3 separate regions of the Homo sapiens genome follow, and all the other regions are linked to region 2. The links are contacts of gene promoters, found by promoter capture Hi-C in blood cells and fetal thymus (Javierre and others, 2016). All regions are on one chromosome and are shown on one strand. Each heading gives the region's core, a stretch centred on a gene start or on the middle of the fragment in contact. The rest is flanking DNA. Distances are from core to core; before and after follow the strand shown. Region 1 overlaps LINC01081 (long intergenic non-protein coding RNA 1081). Region 2 holds the start of FOXF1 (forkhead box F1). Region 3 has its middle 90 kb from the start of LINC01082.

Region 1 (4,195 bases), core at 1,559-4,058, 260 kb before region 2:
GACCATCCCCTGCTGAACAGTGAGCTGAGTCAGCGGCTTCCCCACTTTCCCAGGCCCTGGGGAGCCCCAGGTTCCTGAGGAGGCACGGGCTCAGAGGGCACCTGGCTGAGAGTGTGAGCCCCACAGAACCAGCTTTCCGCAGCCACTGCCTGCTGGGCTGGGGATGGCAGGCGAGTGCCTGGTGTTTCAGGATTCTCATCTTTCTCGAAAACTGTAAGGGCACCATCGCCCATCTGGACCTGACGCACATTGCCGAATAACTAGGCTGCTGCCCTGCCCACTGTCCTTGAAAGCCACTTAACATATGTTCTGATTCTGCTGCCTGGCAGGCAGCTTTCCGTCCAGTGGCTGGCACCAGCCCTGAGAGATGTGCCTCTCTCCATCACCCAGAGGCTCCGGGCAGCCAGGCTGGAAGAAAACAGGAGGAGCCAGAACCACGAGCTTGGAGACCATTATCTTGTCACTGTCGGAGCCACAGACTTATGAATGGCCCCTGTCCTGGAGTGGAGCTGGCCACCCTGGAGCTTCAGAGGTACTCTCTGGTGAGAGGTTTACAGACCAGCCGCAAAATAAATCGCTCCCTTACCCGGCCTCTGGAGAGCCAAAACTCCCCACAGAGACAGTCATTGCATTGGTTTCTTTGTTAAAATAAAAATGCCCCAAGCATCCGCCCATGGAATTGTGTTCCCCACTGGGGAAGGAAGGCGGCTGTGAGGAAGGCAGCTGGCACGGGAGCAGAGACGTCATGGGGGTGACGGGCAATAACTTTATCCACCACTGGCTCACTGGGGACTTCAGAACAGTCCGCAAATACTAGCTGAGCTCCTACCACATGCCAAGGAGTGTCCTAATCCTCAGGGCTGCAGGTACAAATAGCACAGAGTTCCTAACTCAGGAAGCACACAGTATAACTGGGGTGGGGGCCAGAAAATAAACAAAAAAAGCCAGGCATGCCAGGTCGTGGTGGGAGCTGAGATGAAAATGAAAGGAGATGGGGAGGGGAGTACGTGGGGAGGGGTGGGCTACAGGGGCCATCCCAGCCAAGTAGGAGCCGGCCATGTGGAGATTTGGGGGAAGAACATTCCAGAAAGAGGGAATGGCTAGTGCCAAGTACAAGTGAGCTTGATGAGCTTGGGGAATAGACAGAAGGCCCACATGGCTGGAGTTGTCATTATTGGGAGGGATGGGGAGAAGCAGGAGACATGGCCAGAGGGGCAGGTGGAGGTAGACGGTGAACCATGAGCTTGATGACAATTATCTTGTCACTGCCAGAGCCACAGACTGACCTACATTTTTACAGGGTCACCACAATGAAGGGTTGAGAAAAGGCTGAGGGGGCTGCAGGTGGGTGGAGGACAGGAGGCTAGAGAGGAGACCTGTACAGCTGCTGGACATGGCATGGTGACGATGTGGATTAAGGTGGTCTCTGCTGCATGACACATTTCAATACACATAGCAGCTGGCAAAAACAGTCAGGCATCTGGGCCCAGCTCAGTTGCGGCCTCTGCAGGGCTTTGATTAACATATTGGCTGGGGCTGGTCTCATCTGAACGCCTGAGTGGGGAAACATCCAGTTTCTTGCTTGCTCAGGCTTTTGCAAGACTTCAGGTCTGTAGGGCTGTTGGACTGAAAGCTACAGTTTTGGAGTGCTTCATTTCATTTTGTTTCATTTGTTAGCCATCAGCTGGAGGCTGCCTTCCACAACTAGAGGTCAACTACAGTTCCCCACCATACAGGGCTCAGCAGTGTGCCCAGCTTCTTCACAGCCAGCATGGTGGGTGGATTCCAGCCGACTGAGGGCCACAGCCTTAGGCAGCGCCACCCCATAACCACGTGTATGGAACCAGACACGTCTGTCACCTTTGCCAGACCCTATGGATCAGAAGCAGTCACAGGCCCTGGCTGCTCTCAGGGAAGGGGTTCCCACAGGGTGTGCACACCAGGGTGTGGGGTCCTGGGTCCGCCTACGGGTCTGTCTACCATGGTGGTGTCCATGGGTATGCTGAACAGTGGACGCTTCTGCTGTGTAAGTTTAATTTCCTCCCAGAAGCAGCACATTATCATCCCCCATTTAATACACGAGGGTTAAAGTTTTGTCCTATATGTGGCAAATGATGATTAACTTTTCTTCGTTAAATCCATAAAGTACCAGGAGGAGGACAGACAGATAGAAGCCAGGCAGAGAGGGTTTGAAGGGAAGTTGAAGGGAGCCCCAGGAGGAACCTGGAACTCACACATCACAAGGGGTGATATCATCACTCCTAGGTTCCACCCCTGCACAGCAAAGAAGCCCAAAGCTTGCTGGCTTACAACACTGATGTTTCCTTTACTTGTTCCTCCACTGATGGCATCTACTGGGCAGGCTCAAAGGCTGGGGCTGGGTCCCCCATACAGCTGTGCACTGACACACAAGCGTGGCCGGGACCACAGCAGGGGCTGTGGCCAGAGGACGTGTGGCCTCTTGTGTGGCCTGGTTCCTGTACATGGTGACTGGGCTCTAACGGTGGGCACCTAAGACAGACAGGGCGAGGCAGGAGCTGCATCACATTTATACTCCATCCTGGAAACCACACTGGCTCATTTCTACCTCATTGTATGCACCGGAGCAAGTCAATGTCCACAGGGAAGGAGACCAGCAACCACCTTTAGAAGGGAGAAGAGTCACAGGGTAAGCAGCCATGTTTCAGGTAAAACCGCCACACCGTCTGGAAACATGCTGATTCCAAGCAGGCCACAGGTGAGGGCTTTCGTGACATCTGGGTGACTATTTGTAACCTTGATGATTGATCAAAGGAGAAAAGGCAGGCTCCTCTTCTTGGCTCCCAGGGGTATCTCGCCCTGAGATTGCCTGGGGACCACAGTTAGTTCATCTGTGAAATGGGGCAATAACCTCTCTTTCTACTTATTTTGGAAGACATCTTAGAAAAATATCAAGTGTCGTGGCAGATGTAAGCCACATGACTGTTGCCTGAGATGGGGAAAGCAGGTAGGGGGCAGCTGGCTCAAAGCCCTGGGAGTTCCCAGAACACACGAGATGGACCCAGTTCCCATCAGCCCCCCATAGTGCCACAGAGACCCAATGCCTCCATGGCTGACAATCCCCCACAGGCTCCTGTCCTGCCACAGAGCCCCTTGGGAGGGAGCGGGCACCCTTCACACCTAACCACGGCTGTTCCAACACAGCCACTCCAATTTTAAGATATTCCCGACAACAAATCTCACTCGTATGCACTGTACACCTACATGTGCCAAGCACCGTTGCAGATCTTGGCAGCACCGCGCCACATTCCCTTCCTCACGGAGCTCAAGCTCAAGACCCGGAAGCTTCCAGGAACCCATGAGCCACTTGGGAGGTAACTCCTTTAGGAAACTTGACAGTATCGCTTCATTTTTCACCTGGATATTCTCACACTCTGTGGGGAGGCTAAATGGTAGAAACATGTCTATTTGGGGTGAGGTAAAAGCTTTAGGGATAGATGGTGGTGATGGTTGCATAATATTGTGAAGGCAATTAACACCACCATTTAGGTACACCTAAAATGGTTACCATATTAAGTTTTACGTTATACATATTTTACCACAGTTCTTAGAAAGTGAATAATGTGACACACCGCAGATCATTAAATGTCATGCTTTAAATGAGTGACTTGCACGGTATCTGAATTTATATCTCAATAAAGCTGCTTAAAAATAAATCAATAAAATTTTAAAAAGCTACTTTGAAAACATTTTAAAAAATTATAGCCCAGAATGGTAAGATTAAACTCTATCAACCATCAGGGACGTTTCCGAAATGCATGGTGTGCTCTTAATGACTAATTATTGTTCTGTTAACCAAGGCTTTGCTCAACAGAAAATCAAAGGTACACCAGGGAATGAGCCAAGCTCAGAATCTCACAGGAGAAACTTCTGGCCAATTGATTCACAATCAATTTTATCTCCACAGACATGCAGGAAGCTCAGACAGGCTGTAGAAATCAACTGGCCTCGAAAGTAACCCAATATCCCACGGTCTGTGTCCCTCCATCCTCCCTCCTCCCTTTGTCCTGGTTAATATAACTTGATACTTCATAATCCTGGAACTTACACGTGCCTCTGCAAAGGTGAAAATCCCCACAGTAGAGACACTTCGTCCAGCAGATATATGATCCCATTTGCCTATTAAATGCAAATATCCAAGTGGGCTGTTGGTTCA
Region 2 (4,734 bases), core at 538-3,037:
CCCCAGCCCGCACCCGAGCGCTGAGGTGGCAAGGGCAGGTCTGCGTGCGAGCCCCCTGCGGGCTGGCAGCCAGGTGCGCGAGGGCCGCCCTTGCCGGCGCTCCCAGCCCGCGCTGTCTGCTCTCAGGAACCTGGCCTGGCGCGCAGTGTCAGAGGCCCCGCGGCGGCGGCAGGCCGAGCCCACAGGGGCATTAGGCCAACTCCCCCCTCCCGCCCTGCGCACGCGGAATTCTCTATTATTATTATTAAAGAATCCCCCAGAACTTGTTTACGTTAAACCCTGTAAACTTCCTGCCAGGGCCTTTGCCATCTCTCGGGAAATCGGAACCTGCGCTTTGAAAACGGGGCCGCGGGGCCAAATAGGCGGGTTTTCAGTGTGTGTTGGGGGTGGGGGAGGGCAACTGAACTACGTGTGAGTTCAGATCCGAGCGTGGCGTGTGTACGCGTGAGTGGGAGTGAGTGCGAACTTAAGCTCCTGTGGGCCTTAAGCTTCCGTGTCAACGAGTGCATTAGTGGGTGCGCACATGCCTGAGCGCCCTCTGCATATGAGTGTGCACACACGCATGGGTGTGTTTACACGTCTGTTTGCGTAATTTACCGGGTTTGCATGTGCATCAAGACATGTATGTGTGTGCTAATGTGTGGACAAGAGCGCGAGGGTGTGCGCGCACGGGTGAGTGACTGAGCACGCCGCTTATTCAGGGGCCTGTGCGGTCTGGGTCGCCTCTGGGCCAGCGGGTTCTCACTCGCCCCCGTCAGGCCCGCGGCGCCCGAGACAAAGCGGCCGCGACTCGTGCTGCGCTTTCGTTTTCCGCCTGCGCTCTGCCCCGGCGGCTGCCCGCCCGCTCGCAAGCTGCTGGGCGAGTCCGAAAAATCCCGGGAGCGGCGCAGTTCTTCCCGGGGCGGGGAGAGTGGGTAGGCGGTCCCTCGCGGGAACTTAGCCGGCCGGCCGCGAGGACCGGAGTCGAGCCGGCTGTGCCTGCGATGGTCACGACCGGGAGGCCGCCGCACTTGCGATTTGCTACAGGGCTGTGCGCGTCGGGGAAGGCCCCGGCCCAGGGAGCGTTTCCCGCCGCGCCGCCCGGGCGGGGAAGGCGGGGTCCAGCGCGCACCGGGGCTGAACCGCGGGCGGAGGGCGCATTAACACTTGCTCGCCAGGTTGGTGGAGGCGGGGCGGATTCTGCTGGCGGCCGCGGGGCGGCGAGAGTGGGGGCTCTTTAAGCGCCCACCAACGCGGGGGCCCGAGGGGGGCAGGGACGGAGGGAGGGAACTCCGGGAGGGTCTTAGGCCGACCCGCGAGACGCAGCCGAGCGGAGATGGAGTGAAGGCTGCCTCGCCCGGAATCTCGGAGCCGAGCGCCGCGGGCGGCGGGGACTCAGGGCTGCTCCCGGCTGGGGCGCACGGCCGTAAGACCTGGAGGTGGTGCCTCCCCCCAAAAAATACCGGCGGGGGTAGCTTCCTCACGGCCTTCGCCCGGGCTGCCCTCGGCCTCAGCTCGGCTCCTTTCCTTGTGGGAGGGCGAGAAAGAAAGAGGGAGGAGAGAGGTGGGGGAGGCGGGAGTTGGAGAGAGAGGGGCTCTGAGCCAACCGCCGGCGGATCCAGCAGCTCCTCGGGGAGGGCGGGCGGGAGCGCGGGGGCGGGCGCGCCGCGGCTCGCTCGGGAGAAGTGGCCGCCGATGACGGCAGAGGTGCAGCCAGCCCCGCGCGCGCAGCCCCCTCCCCTTCGCCCTCCTCCCCCCCGTCGTCCTCTTCCTCCTCCTCCTCCTCCTCCTCCCGGCCCGTCCGCGGCGCAGAGCAGCGGCGGCAGCGGCGGCGGCGGCAGCAGCCACCCGATGTCTTCGGCGCCCGAGAAGCAGCAGCCACCGCACGGCGGCGGCGGCGGCGGCGGCGGGGGAGGCGGCGCGGCCATGGACCCCGCGTCGTCCGGCCCGTCCAAGGCCAAGAAGACCAACGCCGGCATCCGGCGCCCGGAGAAGCCGCCCTATTCCTACATCGCGCTCATCGTCATGGCCATCCAGAGTTCACCCACCAAGCGCCTGACGCTGAGCGAGATCTACCAGTTCCTGCAGAGCCGCTTCCCCTTCTTCCGGGGCTCCTACCAGGGCTGGAAGAACTCCGTGCGCCACAACCTCTCGCTCAACGAGTGCTTCATCAAGCTACCCAAGGGCCTTGGGCGGCCCGGCAAGGGCCACTACTGGACCATCGACCCGGCCAGCGAGTTCATGTTCGAGGAGGGCTCCTTTCGGCGGCGGCCGCGCGGCTTCCGAAGGAAATGCCAGGCGCTCAAGCCCATGTACAGCATGATGAACGGGCTCGGCTTCAACCACCTCCCGGACACCTACGGCTTCCAGGGCTCGGCCGGCGGCCTCTCGTGCCCGCCCAACAGCCTGGCGCTGGAGGGCGGCCTGGGCATGATGAACGGCCACTTGCCGGGCAACGTGGACGGCATGGCCCTGCCCAGCCACTCGGTGCCCCACCTGCCTTCCAACGGCGGCCACTCGTACATGGGCGGCTGCGGCGGCGCGGCGGCCGGCGAGTACCCGCACCACGACAGCTCGGTGCCCGCCTCCCCGCTGCTGCCCACCGGCGCCGGTGGGGTCATGGAGCCGCACGCCGTCTACTCGGGCTCGGCGGCGGCCTGGCCGCCCTCGGCGTCCGCGGCGCTCAACAGCGGCGCCTCTTATATCAAGCAGCAGCCCCTGTCCCCCTGTAACCCCGCGGCCAACCCCCTGTCCGGCAGCCTCTCCACGCACTCCCTGGAGCAGCCGTATCTGCACCAGAACAGCCACAACGCCCCAGCCGAGCTGCAAGGTGAGTGGGGAGGCCGAGGGCGCCCTGGTCCCCGGGAAGTCGAGTCTGAGTGGCAGCGGGACCCAGCTGGGGCGAGCCCCTCCACTTCTGTGGTCGGAACCCCAAGGCTGAGGGGAGGCACCAGCTCCCCAAGGTGTCTCTTGGCCCCACCTCTCCCCCTTCGAAGAGTGACTACCGCTCTTGACCCTAGTTTGGGCCAATCTGTTTCTCTTTCTGTTCGAACTCCAGCTGCCAGCTGCTCCAGGCCTGACCAGGTAGGCTGGTCCTGAGCCAGATGTCCCAGACCCCAGTGCCCTAAGTCCTTTTGTGTCCCTTAAGTCCCCTCACAGCTTGGAAAGATCCTGGGATGGACCCAAGGCTCCCAGCGCTGGCCAGATGGCTGTCCCTCCCTGGTGGTGGCCCTCAGGCTGCCTGGAGGGCTGCCTCTGCCTGGGGCTGGGCGGAACGGAAGGTGTTAGGCCCAAAGCCGCTGGGCCAGCGCTCAGAGGCTCAGCCCCGGCCTTTCAGGGGACCAGACCTGGCAGACCCACAGCTGAGTCCAGGGGCATTTTGTGGTGACTGAGGCAGGAGGGTGCCGTGGCCAGGCCCCGGAGGGTCAGAGCTGCAGACCGGGCCATGGGGGCTCCTTGTTTTTTAGGATCCAAGTTTTCAGGTCCCCACACCCCCAACACCCCTGATACCCCAATACCCCGAACATGCAGAAGCATCTGCCAAGGGAGATGCAGCAGCCTCGCCTCCTGATTCTGCCCCAGGCCCCCCGCAGCCTGCAGGCCCAGCTCTGGAAAAAGCTGGAGTGAGCTTGCCAGGGCCAGTCCAGGGTCAGCTGTCAGCAGCCCCAGGAGGCAGGAGCCAGGCCTGGAGGCCTTAGGCAGCCTCTCTGCGGGGGACTCCCCGGCTCCGGGGCCTGTTCTCTGGAGAAGCTTCTTCTCACCCCTGCTGCTGGCCCGGCGCTGGCCCTGCACTGGCCTCTCCTTCAACCCCGCCGGCAGTCGTAGCCTCTGAGGTTGGGGGTGGTGGTGGCTGCCCTGGCGGTGACGGCCATGGGCGTTAGGGGCCCTCCACTTGGTCTCCCTCACCACTTCCCCTATGGCTCTGGAAGCCCTGGGCCCCTGCACGGTGTCCGAGGCTGGACAGGCACGCAGCAGGCAGGCAGGCAGGCAGGCAGGCAGGCCGTGGCAAGTGTTCTGGAGTCTTTTCCTTGGGTGCGCAGCTGGAAGGCCGGGACTCGGGGAGGAGAGCGGGGAGGCGGCCGTGCTCTGGAGCCAGGCTGACAGGCCCTGTGCGCCCCACGGGAGCACTGCTCCTCTGCCTGAACTCTGAGCCACCGTGGCTAACTCTTCTGCTCCCCCAACCCCTCCTGTCGCCTCGCCTTGCAGGCATCCCGCGGTATCACTCGCAGTCGCCCAGCATGTGTGACCGAAAGGAGTTTGTCTTCTCTTTCAACGCCATGGCGTCCTCTTCCATGCACTCGGCCGGCGGGGGCTCCTACTACCACCAGCAGGTCACCTACCAAGACATCAAGCCTTGCGTGATGTGAGGCTGCCGCCGCAGGCCCTCCTGGTGCAGGCAGGCGGGTCACAGGGACCCTGGACCGGCACAAGAAACTGCTTTCTTCTCGAGGTATAACCGTCGGCAGAAGAAAAGGGTTCCACCTCTCCCCAACCGGAGTTTTTGGCAAGGAGTCCCCAATGCAAAGACACAGCGCTGCGGTTGGCACCTCCTTCCTCACTCCTTCAAAATTGTTAAGAAATGTTAGTGGTGGGTCTGATCTGACTGCAGCCATCGGTAAATAAAAGTTTTTGATCCTGTTGAACCCGCCTGAGACGGTGCTGTGCAGGGGAAAGCCCCCGCACCCACACAGGAATTCTGCTGAGGTCCCCCCTCCTTCCGGCCAATGGCAGAAGTGGGGGAAAATTTTTAGAAGA
Region 3 (4,486 bases), core at 1,702-4,201, 400 kb before region 2:
TTCACCGCCATTTTAGATAAAGTTCAATGGACTGAAATTCCCAACAACAACAATAACACCAGCAAGTTAGTGTTCCTCCCCTGGAAAATCCCCTCCACCTTGCTTCTATTATGTCAGTGGCCAACTCATTCTCTCCTGCCAACTTTGAAGTCCAAGTTATTTCTGTTTTCAATTCATTCTTTCCTCTAAAATAAAATTAATTTTGATGTGATTAGAAAAGGAATGTATCATCATGATATGAAATTGATAAAATGCTAAACAAAAAGGATTAAAGTAATCTGAAATCCCACCATCCAGAAATAATTAATTCACCATTAACACTTTGGTTATATCCTTCCTGACTTCTCTCTCTGTCTTTCTTTCTTCTCTTGACATTGGGAGGGGAAGCTGGCCTATGTACAGTACATTGCCTAATTTCACTCATTTCAAAATATAATGACAAGCTAACGGCTTTATTGAAAAAGTGAGGGGCCCTATGGTTTTGAAGTATAAAGATAATTATTGAATCACTGTGGGGTTACTTCCTAGGGCCTAGCCCTCCTTCTTTTCACCTATTGCATGTTCAGGGCTGCAGGCGAACTCTGCAGGGCTCCCTGCAGCAGCCACTGAGTCCTCCAGTGACACTGTACGGTGCTTTTATTGCTGATATTTTTGGCCACCCTTAACAGGTGAGGAAACAGAGCCTGAGAGCGGGAAGTGCCCTTCTCAGGGGCACATCTCTCCAGACTCCTCCATTCTTTCTCTATCCCCCAGAAGTTCACACTCTATCAGAGGAGGTGACCCCCTGATAATACCTAAGTCTGAAGTGCCCAGTAAAGGTTTAGAGAAGCTCAGGGGCACTTGAAACGGCAGGGAGAGGCTTTACATCTACCTGAGAGAGGAGAAGATGGAGTCAGGGGACCTTCTTGGAGGAAGTGTCCCTACAGGAATAGCCCTATATGTGGTCCTGTCTGACTCCTCTGACGTCATACTAGTCAGGATTCATTCAGTTTTAAGTGACAGAATGACTTTACATCTATGGAAAAATATATAATACAAGGACCCCATCCTTGGAGTTCAGGCATGGTGGGATCCAGGTGCTCAGATCCTGTTGTAAAAATCTGCCCTCTCCCTTCCCTTGGTTCCATTTTGCTGTAGGTTGGTTTCATTTTCAGGGAGTTTTTCTCCAAGGGCTTGCCTCTGGCAACTCGACTTCCACACTATCCGTTTAGTAATGCCAGTGTGAAGAGCCTGTTCATTATCCGTTGTTCGAGGAATGTCCTGGGGTTGACTCTTACTGGCTTGGTCATGTGCCATCTCTGAGCCAATCAATGTGACTTTTTTTGTCTGGGCCTAGGTCCCGTGTTCACCCCTGAAACTGGGAGGTGTTGTCATCAGCCACCTGAATCTTGTGGACTGAGAATGGTATAGGGATAGTTTCCAAAAGGAAATTGAGAGTCTAACCCCAGAAACAGGAGGAATGAAGATTGGTGGTCAAGCAAAGGCTGTCCAGCACAGTGCCAGCAATGCCACCATTGGATACACCTCCTTCAAATGCTTCTTCAGAATAGAGCCTTTTATCCTCCTGCTCCCCTAACAAGATGATTTCATTCGCATATTAACAGGGCCTAGAGTTATCTGCTCAAGTTATTAGCACCCAGTGTGTCCTTTAGCACAGGCAGGGACTCGAGATTCTCAGGCAGAGGACAAGCAGGCTATGAGGGAGAGAACATTCTGGAGCTCAGGAAGCATGAGTGGGAGGCTCTGGCATTCAGAGGATAGCGTGATAGACCCCATTGTGGGTGCTGGAAGTTTCCAAATAGAGAGACTTTGTGAACAAGCTGCACAATTTCACAATTTTCCTCCTGGGTCAGCCATGTCACAGCAGAACTTTTTTTTTTTTTTTTTTGAGACGGAAATCTCGCTCTTTCGCCCAGGCTGGAGTGCAGTGGCGCGATCTTGGCTCACTGCAAGCTCCGCCTCCTGGGTTAATGCCATTCTCCTGCCTCAGCCTCCCCAGTAGCTGGGACTACAGGTGCCCGCCACCACGCCCGGCTAATTTTTTTGTATTTTGTATTTTGAAATTTTTTGTATTTTGAAATTTGTATTTTGTATTTTGAAACCCCATGTAGAGATGGGGTTTCACTGTGTTAGCCAGGATGGTCTCGATCTCTTGACCTCGTGATCCTCCCACCTTGGCCTCCCAAAGTGCAGGGATTACAGGCGTGAGCCACTGTGCCTGGCCCACAGCAGAACTTTTGAGCGGGTTCTCAGCTACTCCAGGCCAGGCTCTGGCTTCCACATGCAAGGACAGTTCATTCCAGGTGGAGACAATTCCACCGGCTAACAGATGTGTCTCTGTTTACTCCATGGCTCACCCACTCACCCTCCAAGCTTCCACTTTCCTGTCAGCCCCTCTTTCAGACTGGCACCGCCAGGAGCGTGAGGAGCCTGTGTGGTCTGCTCATTATTCTATCTCCATTGCCTGGCACACAGCTGGTGTTTAATAAGTGCTGTTTGGTGGATGGTGGATGGTTGGGTGAGCGGATGGTAGTTTGAATGGCTTGGCGGATGGGTGGATGGGTGGATGGGTGGATGGATGAGTGGATGAATGTGTAGGTAGAGGGCTGGCTGGCTGGAGGATGATTGAGTGGACCCACAGCTGGATCAGCAAGGTTAACTGGAGGCAGAATTCTGTGACTGTGAAGAGCAAGGTCTCTGTAGCCAGATTGCCTGGGTTCAAATCCCATCTTTGCTTCTTACCTGCTTGTTGACCTTGCGTAAGTTTTTAGCCTCTCTGGGACTCCATTTTCTGATCAATGAGATGTGGGTACCGCCAGGACTTACCTCAAAGGTTGTTGTGAAGATCATCTGAGACGTCACACATGAAAGTACTTTGCACAGTGCCTGCCACACACTAAGAGTTCACTAACTGTGACCTGCCTTGTCCATTTTCATTTGTGTTCTAACAAATGGTTCTTTTGCACGGGCTGCTCTGTTACTGGGTGCTTCCTAGATACTAGGGACACAGCAGAGAATGGCGAGGTGCCCCTGCCCACCTCGAGCAAGCACTTTTATGGGGTGCACGTTTTCCTTTTGTCTTGCATAGCACTTTTATCATTTATACGCATTTTTCATATCTGCACTAATGTTTTTAAAGAGTTCCCCCCATACTGGGCTGTACAGTCCACCCAGGGCCTTTACTGTTTTGTTACCAGCTGGATATCAAAGAAAGAATAACTGATTATTCTCCTTCCAGTTGCTCAGGCCAAACACCCTGAGGTCTACCTTGTATCTTTCCTTTGTCAGGCCACTTTCAGTCTGTTGCAGATCCTATCGGCTCTGCCTTCACAATATACCCAGAATCCAATTTCCTCTCCCAATTCCCTGGTGACCTCTTGTGGGGCACCAATTCCTCACTGGAATCCTGCTAACTGGGCTCCCTCTGTGTGTTTATCCCCACAGTCCCCCCGCCAACATCAGCCAGGGTGCTCACAACGCATCGATTCTACCCTCCCAGGGGTTCCCAGCTCATCTGAAGTAAAGCCGACAAGCTTACCACGGCTTCCAGGTCCTTGCGAAACTGTCTCCTGCCTGCCCTTGCCTGGGACGGCAGAGACCCTGTCTCTCCATCTCTCACTGCCTCCTCACCGCTCCAGCACGGGCCTGGCTGACCCACCCACGTGCCTGGCACACGTCTGCCGGGGCTGTGCATGCTGTGTTCCCTCTGCCTCAAATGCTGTGCTCAGCGATCTGAGCGCTCCTGCCTCCCTTCCTTCAGGGTTTCTGTCGGTGAGGTCTTCCCTGGCCACTGTCTCTAAACACTGTCAGCATCCCTCTTCTGACACGTCTTATCCTCCCTCCCTGATTTTTTTTTCTTCGTAACGCTTGTCTATCTAACATACAGTGAGTTTCATCGAGTGTCTGTTTTCCTCCAGCTGGAAAGTGAATTCCATGAAGGTGGAGACTTTTTGTCTACTAATGTGTCCCCAGTACTTGGTATAGTGCCTGGCACATAAAAAATGCTCAATAAATACTGGAGGAATTGTTACTACTACCGTTACTACTACTACTACTACTGTTACTGCTGCTACTCCCATTACTACTACTACCACCATTACTACTACTGCTACTACTACCATTACTACTACTACTACTACTGTTACTGCTGCTACTCCCATTACTACTACTACCACCATTACTACTACTGCTACTACTACCATTACTACTACTAGTACTGTTACTGCTGCTACTCCCATTACTACTACCACCACCATTACTACTACTGCTACTACTACCATTACTACGACTACTACCACCATTACTACTGCTGCTACTATTACCATTACTACTACTACTACCACTTTTGCTACTACCATTACTACTACTACTACCATTACTACTACTACTATGACTACTACTACCACCATTACTACTACTATGACTACTACTACTGTTACTGCTGCTACTCCCATTACTACTACTACCGCCATTACTACTACTGCTA

What was found. Contacts are between HindIII fragments. The CHiCAGO score rates a contact against its expected background, and 5 or more counts as called.
Region 1: a contact is called between a fragment that was not itself captured here and the fragment with the promoter of FOXF1 in region 2, in 1 of 17 cell types (endothelial precursors). The highest score is 5.1, in endothelial precursors.
Region 3: a fragment that was not itself captured here is called in contact with the fragment with the promoter of FOXF1 in region 2 in 1 of 17 cell types (M1 macrophages); the score reaches 5.3 in M1 macrophages.

What each region holds. Positions count from the first base shown.
Region 1 is chr16:86,243,681-86,247,875 of GRCh38, forward strand. All of the region lies in intron 3 of LINC01081 (long intergenic non-protein coding RNA 1081), which reads right to left. Among named protein-coding and RNA genes, the nearest start is that of LINC01081, 40 kb to the right of the region's middle. The HindIII fragment of the contact is 1,027 bases long and covers 2,296-3,322 here.
Region 2 is chr16:86,508,740-86,513,473 of GRCh38, forward strand. FOXF1 (forkhead box F1) reads left to right here and starts at 1,788. Exons shown (of 2, transcript NM_001451.3): 1 at 1,788-2,809; 2 at 4,186-4,734. The coding sequence starts at 1,831. The coding sequence ends at 4,346. FENDRR (FOXF1 adjacent non-coding developmental regulatory RNA) reads right to left here and starts at 121. Exons shown (of 4, transcript NR_033925.1): 1 at 1-121. RefSeq lists an enhancer at 3,281-4,047. The HindIII fragment of the contact is 3,241 bases long and covers 487-3,727 here.
Region 3 is chr16:86,103,760-86,108,245 of GRCh38, forward strand. No RefSeq gene overlaps it. Among named protein-coding and RNA genes, the nearest start is that of LINC01082, 90 kb to the right of the region's middle. The HindIII fragment of the contact is 1,160 bases long and covers 2,372-3,531 here.